Linked DNA regions of Homo sapiens: region 2 is linked to region 1. The links are contacts of gene promoters, found by promoter capture Hi-C in blood cells and fetal thymus (Javierre and others, 2016). All regions are on one chromosome and are shown on one strand. Each heading gives the region's core, a stretch centred on a gene start or on the middle of the fragment in contact. The rest is flanking DNA. Distances are from core to core; before and after follow the strand shown. Region 1 holds the start of ING4 (inhibitor of growth family member 4). Region 2 holds the start of ATN1 (atrophin 1).

The links. The method cuts DNA at HindIII sites, captures the fragments that hold promoters and counts their contacts. A CHiCAGO score of 5 or more calls a contact.
Region 2: a contact is called between a fragment that was not itself captured here and the fragment with the promoter of ING4 in region 1, in 8 of 17 cell types (non-activated CD4 T cells, naive B cells, naive CD4 T cells and 5 more). The highest score is 11.3, in non-activated CD4 T cells.

Annotation. Positions count from the first base shown.
Region 1 is chr12:6,659,755-6,664,505 of GRCh38, forward strand. It overlaps ING4 (inhibitor of growth family member 4), which reads right to left and starts at 3,365. Exons shown (of 8, transcript NM_016162.4): 1 at 3,311-3,365. The coding sequence starts at 3,347. RefSeq lists an enhancer at 3,336-3,395. The HindIII fragment of the contact is 5,227 bases long and covers 2,479-4,751 here.
Region 2 is chr12:6,926,026-6,930,589 of GRCh38, forward strand. ATN1 (atrophin 1) reads left to right here and starts at 1,934. Exons shown (of 10, transcript NM_001940.4): 1 at 1,934-2,359. LOC124902868 (a long non-coding RNA gene) reads right to left here and starts at 1,671. Exons shown (of 2, transcript XR_007063194.1): 1 at 1,502-1,671; 2 at 1-100. RefSeq lists an enhancer at 1-518 and silencers at 1,543-1,592, 1,773-1,932. The HindIII fragment of the contact is 3,716 bases long and covers 1,312-4,564 here.

The DNA of each region.
Region 1 (4,751 bases), core at 2,115-4,614:
GTGAGCCGAGATCGCTCCACTGCACTCCAGCCTGGGCGACAGAGCGAGACTCTGTCTCAAAAAAAAAAAAAAAAAATAGATGGGCATGGTGGCCTGTGGCTGTAGTTCCAGTTACTCAAGAGACTGAGGCAGGACAATTGCTTGAACCAGGGAGGTAGAGGTTGCAGCCCGGGCAAAAGAGCAAGACTGTTTCAAAAAACAAAAAAATTAAAAAAAATAATGTGTAATTAGTTATTTGGTATCTGTCTCCCCAGGCCGAACATGGCTATCATATTCTCTCCTGTTTCCATAGTGTTTAGAATTATGACTTGCAAAGAGCAGGTACTCAGTAAATACTTGAATAAATGCATGAATATTTGTCACCCCAGTACAAGAGAAATCTCTTGCCAAGACTCCACCTAAAACTTTAAAAATGCCTCTACTTGCTGGGCACAGTGGCTCACGCCTGTAATCCCAGCATTCTGGGAGGCCAAGGCAGGTAGATCGCTTGATCTCAGGAGTCTGAGACCAGCCTGGGCAATATGGCCAGATCCTGTCTCTATAAAAATTAAATATATATATAAAAAATAAAAGGCCTGGTACGGTGGCTCATGCCTGTAATCCCAGCACTCTGGGAGGCCAAGGTGGGTGGATCACCTGAGGTTGGGAGTTTGAGACCAGCCTGGCCAACACAGTGAAACCTCATCTCTACTAAAAATACAAAAATTAGCTGGGTATGGTGGCGGGCACTGTAATCCTAGCTACTCAAGAGGCTGAGGCAGGAGAATCACTTGAACCCGGGAGGCAGAGGTTGCAGTGGGCCAAGATCGCACCATTGCGCTCCAGCCTGGGTGACAGAGTGAGACTCTGTCTCAAAAACAAACAAACAAACAGAAAAACTAAAATAAAATAAATAAAAAAAAATAAAATGCCTCTACTGTTTAAACCTACAACTTCAGGTCTGCTACCACCAGTTCACAAGACTGAGTCACTGGTGATTTACCAAATCTAATGGTGTTATTAAGCCTATCCTAAAAAATATCTCTGCAGCAGTTGGCATGATCTTTTCTCCGCTGAGTAACTTTCTTTTCTTTTCTTTTGAGGTGTAGTGTCGCTCTTGTCGCCCAGGCTGGAGTGCAATGGCGCAATCTCAGGTTCAAGGAATTCTTGTGCCTCAGCCTCCCAAGTAGCTGGGATTACAGGCGTCTGCCACCACGCCCAGCTAATTTTTGTATTTTTAGTAGAGACGGGGTTTCACTATGTTAGCCAGGCTGGTCTTGGAACTCCTGACCTAAGGCGATCCACCCATCTCAGCCTCCCAATGTGCTAGGATTATAGGCGTGAGCCACCGCTCCCAGCCTTTTTGTTTTTGTTTTTTTTTTGAGGCGGAGTCTCACTCTGTTGCCCAGGCTGGAGTGCAGTGGCATGATCTCGGCCCACTGCAACCTCCACCTCCCAGGTTCAAGCGATTCTCCTGCCTTAGCCTCCTAAGTAGCTGGGACTACAGGGGCACACCACCACACCTGGCTATTTTTTTTATTTTTAGTAGAGACGGGGTTTCACCATGTTAGCCAGGCTGGTCTCGATCTCCTGACCTCATGATCCGCCTGCCTCAGCCTCCCAAAGTGTTGGGATTACAGGCATGAGCCACCGTGCCTGGCCACCAGCCTTTGTTTTTTTTTTTTTTTTTTTTTTTGAGAGGGACACGGAGTCTTTCTCTGTCACCCAGGCTGGAGTGCAGTGGTATGTATGATCTTAGCTCACTGCAATCTTCACCTGCTGGGTTCAAGTGATTCTCCTGACTCAGCCTCCCAAGTAGCTGGGATTACAGTCACATGCCACCATGCCCAGCTAATTTTTTTTTTTTTTTAAAGTAGAGACTGGGCTTCACCATGTTGGACAGGGTGATCTCAAACTCCTGACCTCAAGTGATCTGCCCGCCTTGGCCTCCCAAAGTGCTGAGATTACAGGCATGAGCTACTGTGCCCAGCCTGTCTACCTCACTTTCTAAGCAGGAAGAAGCCACCTTAGATTCTTCCTTCTCTCTCAACCACTCAGTCATTCAGTCAGTCCTTTCATATTTAACTCCTAAATACTTCTGTAACTCCCTAAAATCAGGTTCTTATCTCTGTCCTGGAATGTTATCACTAATTGATCTCTGTTATCAACAATATCATGCTCCAATTTACCATATATTAGTCATTTTCCTCTATAAAAATCATACTCTACTTTAAAATGCAAACTTCTTCGTTTGGCTTAAAAGACCTTGTCCAATCTAGCCTCAGCCTCTTTCTCCAGTCTCCTTTCTCAATTTCTTACCTTAGATTCATAAATATCAAATACGCTGACCTCTGAGTCATAAATATCAAACACCCTTGACCTTGCCACAAACCCATCACAGTACCTTTGCGGATGCTTTCCCCAACCTGGAATTCCTTTTTTCTCTCCTCACTGGCAAATAACCTTCAAGACCCTATTCAAACATCACCTCCGCTGTAAAGCTTTTCCTACATCCCCAGGTAATTACCCCCCTTTTCTCCAGGGTTGCCTACCAAGTGTCCTTTTTAATGTATTTCCATTATCTCACTTGTCACAGTGTTTTATAATTATTTGCAGAATCTGTTTCCTACTAGATCGTGAGCTTCTTGAGGGCAGGAGCCTTGTCTTACTCATTTTTCTATCCCTAGTGCCTGCCATTATGTCTGACCCATAGCAGGACCTCAATAAATATTTGTTGAATAAATGACTCCGGGCCCTAAAACAAATGTAAGCGCACAGAGCAATAGGCTTTCTGCAGGGGTGGTTTACATAAATCGCATAAACACCAGATTTTCATTTGATGGGAATTAGATCTTTACTCCATGAAGAGAAGCGTTCTAGTTCATCATCTGACAGTGGTCACTCATCACCACCACTCTCAACCCCATGAGAAGCCACTTTTGAGGAAGAATGGAGTGGAGGAGAGGTCTTTACCGCTTCTCCAAATGGCAGTGTGTGATAACGATTCTGAACGACTATGGGGAAAAAAATCTACCGAGGCTGGAGACCCTGGAGAATGGGGGCAGCAACTATCTTCCTGGCCATGCACACTAGCCCTTCAAGACACGTCTCTAACCCCCACACCGCACCCCTCCCTCGTCTACACCCATCAGCGGGGCCTCGATCCTGCTGCCCCGCCCCCTCTTTCTCCGCACCCTCCAATATTTCCTGCCACAGAACCGCTTCATAATTGTGACCTTCTCGTCACTGGAACTTAAGGGCTACAGATCCTCTCATCCCTGATCCCCGCACCACTCTGCAGCCCCGACCCCCACCTCCAGCCTGCTCTTACTGTCCAGATAATGTTCCAAATACATCCCCGCAGCCATCTCGAAGCAAAACAAAGCAACTTCCGATCCGCCCCGGAAGTGACTGTAACGCGACAGGGGCCGAAGCCATTTTGCGGCTAAAGCCTTTCCGCCCTTAAAAGGAGAACTTCCGCCCTTAAAAGGAGAACTTCCGCCCTTAAAGGAGAACTTCCGCCCTTACTATATTACCGCCGGTACACATCCGCCCGACACTGAAACTTTTCCTTTTGCATGGTAGCCACGACCGCCCACAGTGAGGCGGCTGTAGCCCGCTTCCGCCCTTACAGACACCCCAGGACGCGACCGAGACAGGTATGACGTCACTGGAGGTCGCCATTTTGCATTCTCTAGCAAACTTTTTTCCCTCCAAAACGGGAATGTATGGTAATCCGTGCAGGGGTAACTGTTCACTTTAGGCTCATATTGCGTAAACATACCTTCTCAGCAACTGGAAGATCCAACTTTTTTTCCCTCTTTTGCAGAATGACTTTTTTCAAGCCAGTTAGTTTCTTAAGGAAGTTGGGGAAGAGTATCAGGCCTTGAGACATTTAAACCGTCTGAATTTCTATTCACTCACACAAACACCATCTCCCCCAGCATTATTTTTTTAACTTGAGAAAGATGATCACCTTTCTACTTATAAATACAAAGAATGACTCATAATAAAGCTATAATTCTGCACATCTTTTGTCAGAGCTCCTGTACGTTACACTAGAATACACTTTCACATATAAAATATTACTTCCTGCCTTGCCCTCTTGCTTTTTTTTTTTTTTTTTTGAGACAGAATTTTCACTCTTATTGCCCAGGCTGGAGTGCAATGGCGTGATCATGGCTCACCGCAACCTCCACCTCCCGGGTTCAAGTGATTCTTCTGTCTCAGCCTCCCGTGTAGCTGGGATTACAGGTATGCACCATCACGCCAGACTAATTTTGTATTTTTAGTAGAGATGGGGTTTCTCCATGTCGGTGAGGCTGGTCTCGAACTTCCGACCTCAGGTGATCTGCCCACCTCAGCCTCTCAAAGTGCTGGGATTACAGGTGCGAACCACTGTGCCTGGCCCCTCTTGCTACTCTCTAAGGGGGAAATCTCGTGTTTTTGTTTTCCTTTTGTTTATATGTGATGTTAGCATCATAATTCTGAAGGGATTGAGGGATGCAGCAGTATCACTACTGGGCTAGTTGGCTAGTTAGTTGCTAGCCATCACTCTAGTCAGCTATGGTAGAGTGATTTCTATGGTTTTCATCAGAATGGGAAGCAGTCAAGGGTATGAGAGGCTGCCAACACACTAGGCTGTCAACACACTGCCAACACAAAGGCCATAACCTAATAGTGGTGTTAGTAAGATAGTATTTTAGAGATAGCTGCCACCCCTCACACTTTTCGTACCCTCACACATCCTTCATAAGAATTACCAATGTCTT
Region 2 (4,564 bases), core at 1,920-4,419, 270 kb after region 1:
TTGGTGGAGGGCCAGGAGGGAGCCCAGGAGAAGGAACTGGTGGTGGGCTGGCGGAGGTGCTGGCTTCACGGCCGGGAGCAGACTGACTGCCAGAGGCTACCTGGAGAGCAGGGGAGGGAGAGGAAGGGTTGGGAGGAGCCTGCAGTCTGTGGTGGGGACTGTCTCCACCTTAGAACAAGTGGGATTGAGCAACAAGGATACCCAGGGATTTGGGTCCACATTAAGCCCAGTCTTCACCCGACTGCTTCCCTGTGACCCAGGGGATCTTTAGTGATGACTTTCAACAGATTTGAGAAGGAAAATGGAGATGCCACTAGATGGAAGGCCTGAGGATGGTGTCTCACTCCTCCAAGCTGTATCCCTTACCTATCTACCCATGAGCTTGCCAGCAACCTCCCCCCGCTCCCACATCTGTCATTTCCTTTAACTGCCCTCGTTTCCCATCTCCATTTTTTCTTTTTTTTTTTGAGACGGCGTCTCGCTCTGTCTCCCAGGCTGGAGTGCAGTGGCGCGATCTCTGCTTGCTGAAACCTTTGCCTCCCAGGTTCAAGGATTCTCCTGCCTCAGCCTCTGAGTAGCTGGGATTACAGGCATGCGCCACCACACCCGGCTAATTTTTGTATTTTTAGTAGAGACGGGGTTTCGCCATGTTGGCCAGGCTGGTCTTGAACTCCTGACAAGTGACCCACCCGACTCAGCCTCCGAAAGTGCTGAGATTACAGGCGTGAGCCCCCGCACCGGCCCCATCTCCATTTTCTTTTCCCATCCATGATCTTTCCTCTTCCATACTGCCGCCAGCCATAGGCCTTGTTCAGCTTACATTTCCTTCCAATCTTCTTATCCCCCTCTTCCCCATTCTGCCCGCCCAAGTAAACCCTCCTCGGCTCTACTGGGAGCCCCCACCCCCAGGATCCAGCCAGCCCGGTGTCTCCCACCCTTCTTTCCCATCCAGAGCCCTCCTTTCTCACCCAGAACCTATTTTCCCTAGAATTGGCACCTGGGCCCACCTCGTTCATCCCTTCTTAAGGTTCCTCACGCGTTCCCTCCTCTCTCTCCTCACTGACGTTTCCTCTGGACTTCTCTCTCTCCAGCATTCCTTCATCCCCCCACCCCCAATTCTTATATTTATGACTCTTTTGTCAACACTAATCACCCCCAAAAGCTTTACTTTTTCCAGAAGCCCCATCTTTCTATATATGTCATCTTTTCAATTTTTCTCTCTCCTTATGACCCCAAACTTCCATCCCATTCTCTCTGATAATAGCCCCCAAACCCGTCTGGCTCCATCTCTGCCACAGATCCCTCACCCCAAGCTTCTCTCACTTCTCACCAGGCACCCACAAAGCCCCCAGGCAGCTCCATCTTTCCAATCCAATCCCATTATCCCAATCTCTACCCCAGGATCCCCCAAACTCCTCCCACTTCACCTCTGCCACAGACCCGCTCGCCCCCAAACTTCAGCCTCCCCTCATCTGCCCTCACCACCCACAGCCCCTCCTACCTAGCCCTCTCCCGCGCCGGGCCCGCGGGCTCCCCACATTCCGCCACGGCTAGCCCTCCCCGCGCCCCGGCCCCCTCGGCCTCGGCCTCGGCCAACTCGCGCTGCGCCTCCCCCTCTCCGGCTCCCCCTCTCTCCCCCCTCGCGGCTTGCCTCGCGCTCCCTCCCTCGCGTCTCCCTCCTGGCCCCTCTCTCCTCCGTTCCTCCGCGCTCCCTCCTTCTCCCTCTTCCTCCCTTCTCCCATCCCCCTCTCCCAGGCTCCCTCCCTTCGCCGTCCGCTTTCCTGTGCGAGTCGCCGGACGCACCGCCCAGCCCGTCCGCAGCCCCGCGCCGGGTCGGGGCCTCGGGCCGGGCCATTTCGGAGGGACCGCGGCTTCGGGGAGGGGCTAGGAGGGGGGAGAGGGAGCCGACTGCCGGGGAAGGGGCGGGGGCCGCGGGCGAGGCGGCCGAGGGGCCCGGGATCGCGCGGGTGCGGGCTGCGCTAGGCGGGCGCGGGCGGCGGCGGGTCGGAACCGCGCCGAGGGCCGGGCGGGCCGCGGGGCCGGGCGGCGCGGCGGGGGCGGGCGGCGCGGCCCGGGGCATTCCGGGCGGCCAGGGGGAGGCGGCGAGCCCGGGGAGGTGGGGAGCAGAGCGGGGATCGGGGTTTGCTCCGGGGGCCGGCGGGCGATTGGGGCCAGGCGGGGAAAAGGGGGGATGGGGGCCGCCCTCCGGGGGGGTCGGGGCCGCCGCCGCCGTCGTCGCGGCGGCGACTGAGGCCGAGAAGAGGAGAGGGGGGCGGGGGAGCTGCCGCCGCCGCCCCCCAGAGGCGCCGGAGCCCGGAATCCCGCTCGGAGCCAGCCAGCCGTCCCGAGCTACCAGCAGGTAAGGTCTGCGGCCGCCTGGGCCCCGGGCCCGCGGGGTTCTGTCCCGCCCGGGCTCCGGCCTGCGGCTCCCCACCCCCACCCCTCCCAGTTCCCCCTCCTGCCGCCGCCGCCTCCATTTGTTATTTTCCCAATCCCGTCCCCCCACTGCGGGCTCTGCCTGGCCTGAGGGCCGGGGGCTCAGGGGGTGGGGCCCGCCGAGGAGAGTCGGGGGCCAGGGTTTCGGGAGGATCGGGAAGGTGGGGAAGGAGGGAGGGTCTCCGGAGGAGGCCTGTGGGGCCAGAGGGTATCCGGGACCCGCAGACTCAAAAGAGGAGGAACATCGAGGCCGGGGTTGGCGGAGGAAAACGGGGGATGCTGTGAGTGGGGTTCCGGGCGAAGGCAGAATGGATAGGAGAGATGGCAGCGAGGTGGGGCATGAAGCCTCCAGGAAAAAGCTCCAAAGGACCAGAACACGGGTTCCGGAGCCTGGGGTTGGGGGCTTTAGGAATAGACGGGAAGTGGGAAACGGGAAAGGGGTGTGGTAGGTGGAAAGAGGGATTGTGGCTGATGAACCTGGGGGAGACGGAGGCTTGGGCAAAGAGAGGTCCATTTTTGAGAAGAGCCGGAGGTTTTCCAGCGTGGAAGAGGGAAGGCCATGTCTTTGTGACGGTTTTCATTCCCCTACTGCAGGTCACCTCTGACCCTGTTTTCCCTATCCCAGACATAGTTATTTCTTGGAGAGGGCACTGGGGCCCAGTAGTGTGGGTTATCCCAAAACTAGTGAGGAGGAAAACAGGAACACAGAAGGGGGAGTTGGGAAGAAAGGGGTTCTGGGAGGATGGAAATGGAGAATTGAGCAACCTTACAGGCACTCCAGGCAAGTTGCGACCTCCACCCTCCACCCTCCAATTTCCGGAGCGTCCGCTGCCCCTGGAGCTGTGATCTATATAGGGAGGCCTTAGTTACTGCTTTGAGCTCAAAGATCTCCCTTTGTGCATGGGCTTATTTTGACTAGGGTAGGTACCTTCAAGCTCCCTTACCTGAGGTGCTATAGGAGGGTAGGAGTTGCTTTGGCAACTGGGGTAGGGGGTAGCTGCCAGATGGACACCTGGGATGGTCTCTTGAGGGGCACCTTTTGCCACTGTGTTGCTATGGTAGTGATCCAGTGGGATGTCAGATTGGTTGGGGGGGCTTCGAATGTTTATTGGACCTCAGCCTGTGGCTGTCCTTGGGACTCTGGGCTGGGTTTTGGAGGTTGTTTCTGGATCTGTTGGTGGTTGGGAGTTTCCCCACGGTGTGCACCCTTTCATGTTGAAGTCTGTTGGAACAGGTAGATACGTTCCTTGCAGATCATAGGTGTTTCTCCAAGTCTCTCCACCTGGGCATGATGGGAGGATGAAAACGCTTCTGTTCAGGTTACACCATCTTTTGGCAGTTGGTTCTGACCTCTACCTCCCTTATTATGTTATTTTTTGTAGAGTTGTCTTTTTGCTTCTTTGCACTTTCTTTCATTTTCTAAAACTTGAATTCCTCTTTGAGCCTCCCTTCTTGAGTAACCCTTTTCCTCTTTCCCTCAACTAACCTTTGGCCTTCTTCCCTGACCTTGTAGAAATGGCTGGGCTCCCAGGCCCATCCCAGGTGAGGGTGGCCCAGGACAGAGGGCTGTGAAACAGCTTCATGCAGGGGAAATACTATAGAACAGGAGCCAGGAGACCTGTGTCTAGACCTGGCTGTGCCTCTGTGACCTTGGGCAAGTCACTTCTCTTTGAGCCTGGGCTTCATTGTTAAGATGAAGGGGCTATAGATGAGATGATCTCTGAGGCCTCTCTGAAGGTCCCGGATTCTCAGAAGGCTTAGGCCAGTGCATCGTTATCTGCTGGTCTGGGCTGCATTGTTATCTAGGAGTCACTTTGGACTGGTTTGTTAGTCTGGCAGGTCCAGAATGATGTTGGGGGCTGGGCCAATGATCCTGAAATTTAGCCTGCGAGCCCCTCCCAGAGAGCTTGTGACTCCACTGTATTCCTTCTGACATCCCATATTTCTCTCTTAATTTCTTTTCCTGTTCTTACTTAGGGGCTCTTTTTCTAGTTCTCACTTTCCTCCCAACCCAGTCTGGTCTTAATCATTTTCTTTTTAAAGTAAGGTAATGGCAGTGCGCAGTGGCTCACGCCTGTAATCCCAGCACTTTGGGAGGCTGAGGCGGGCGGATCACGAGGTCAGGCGA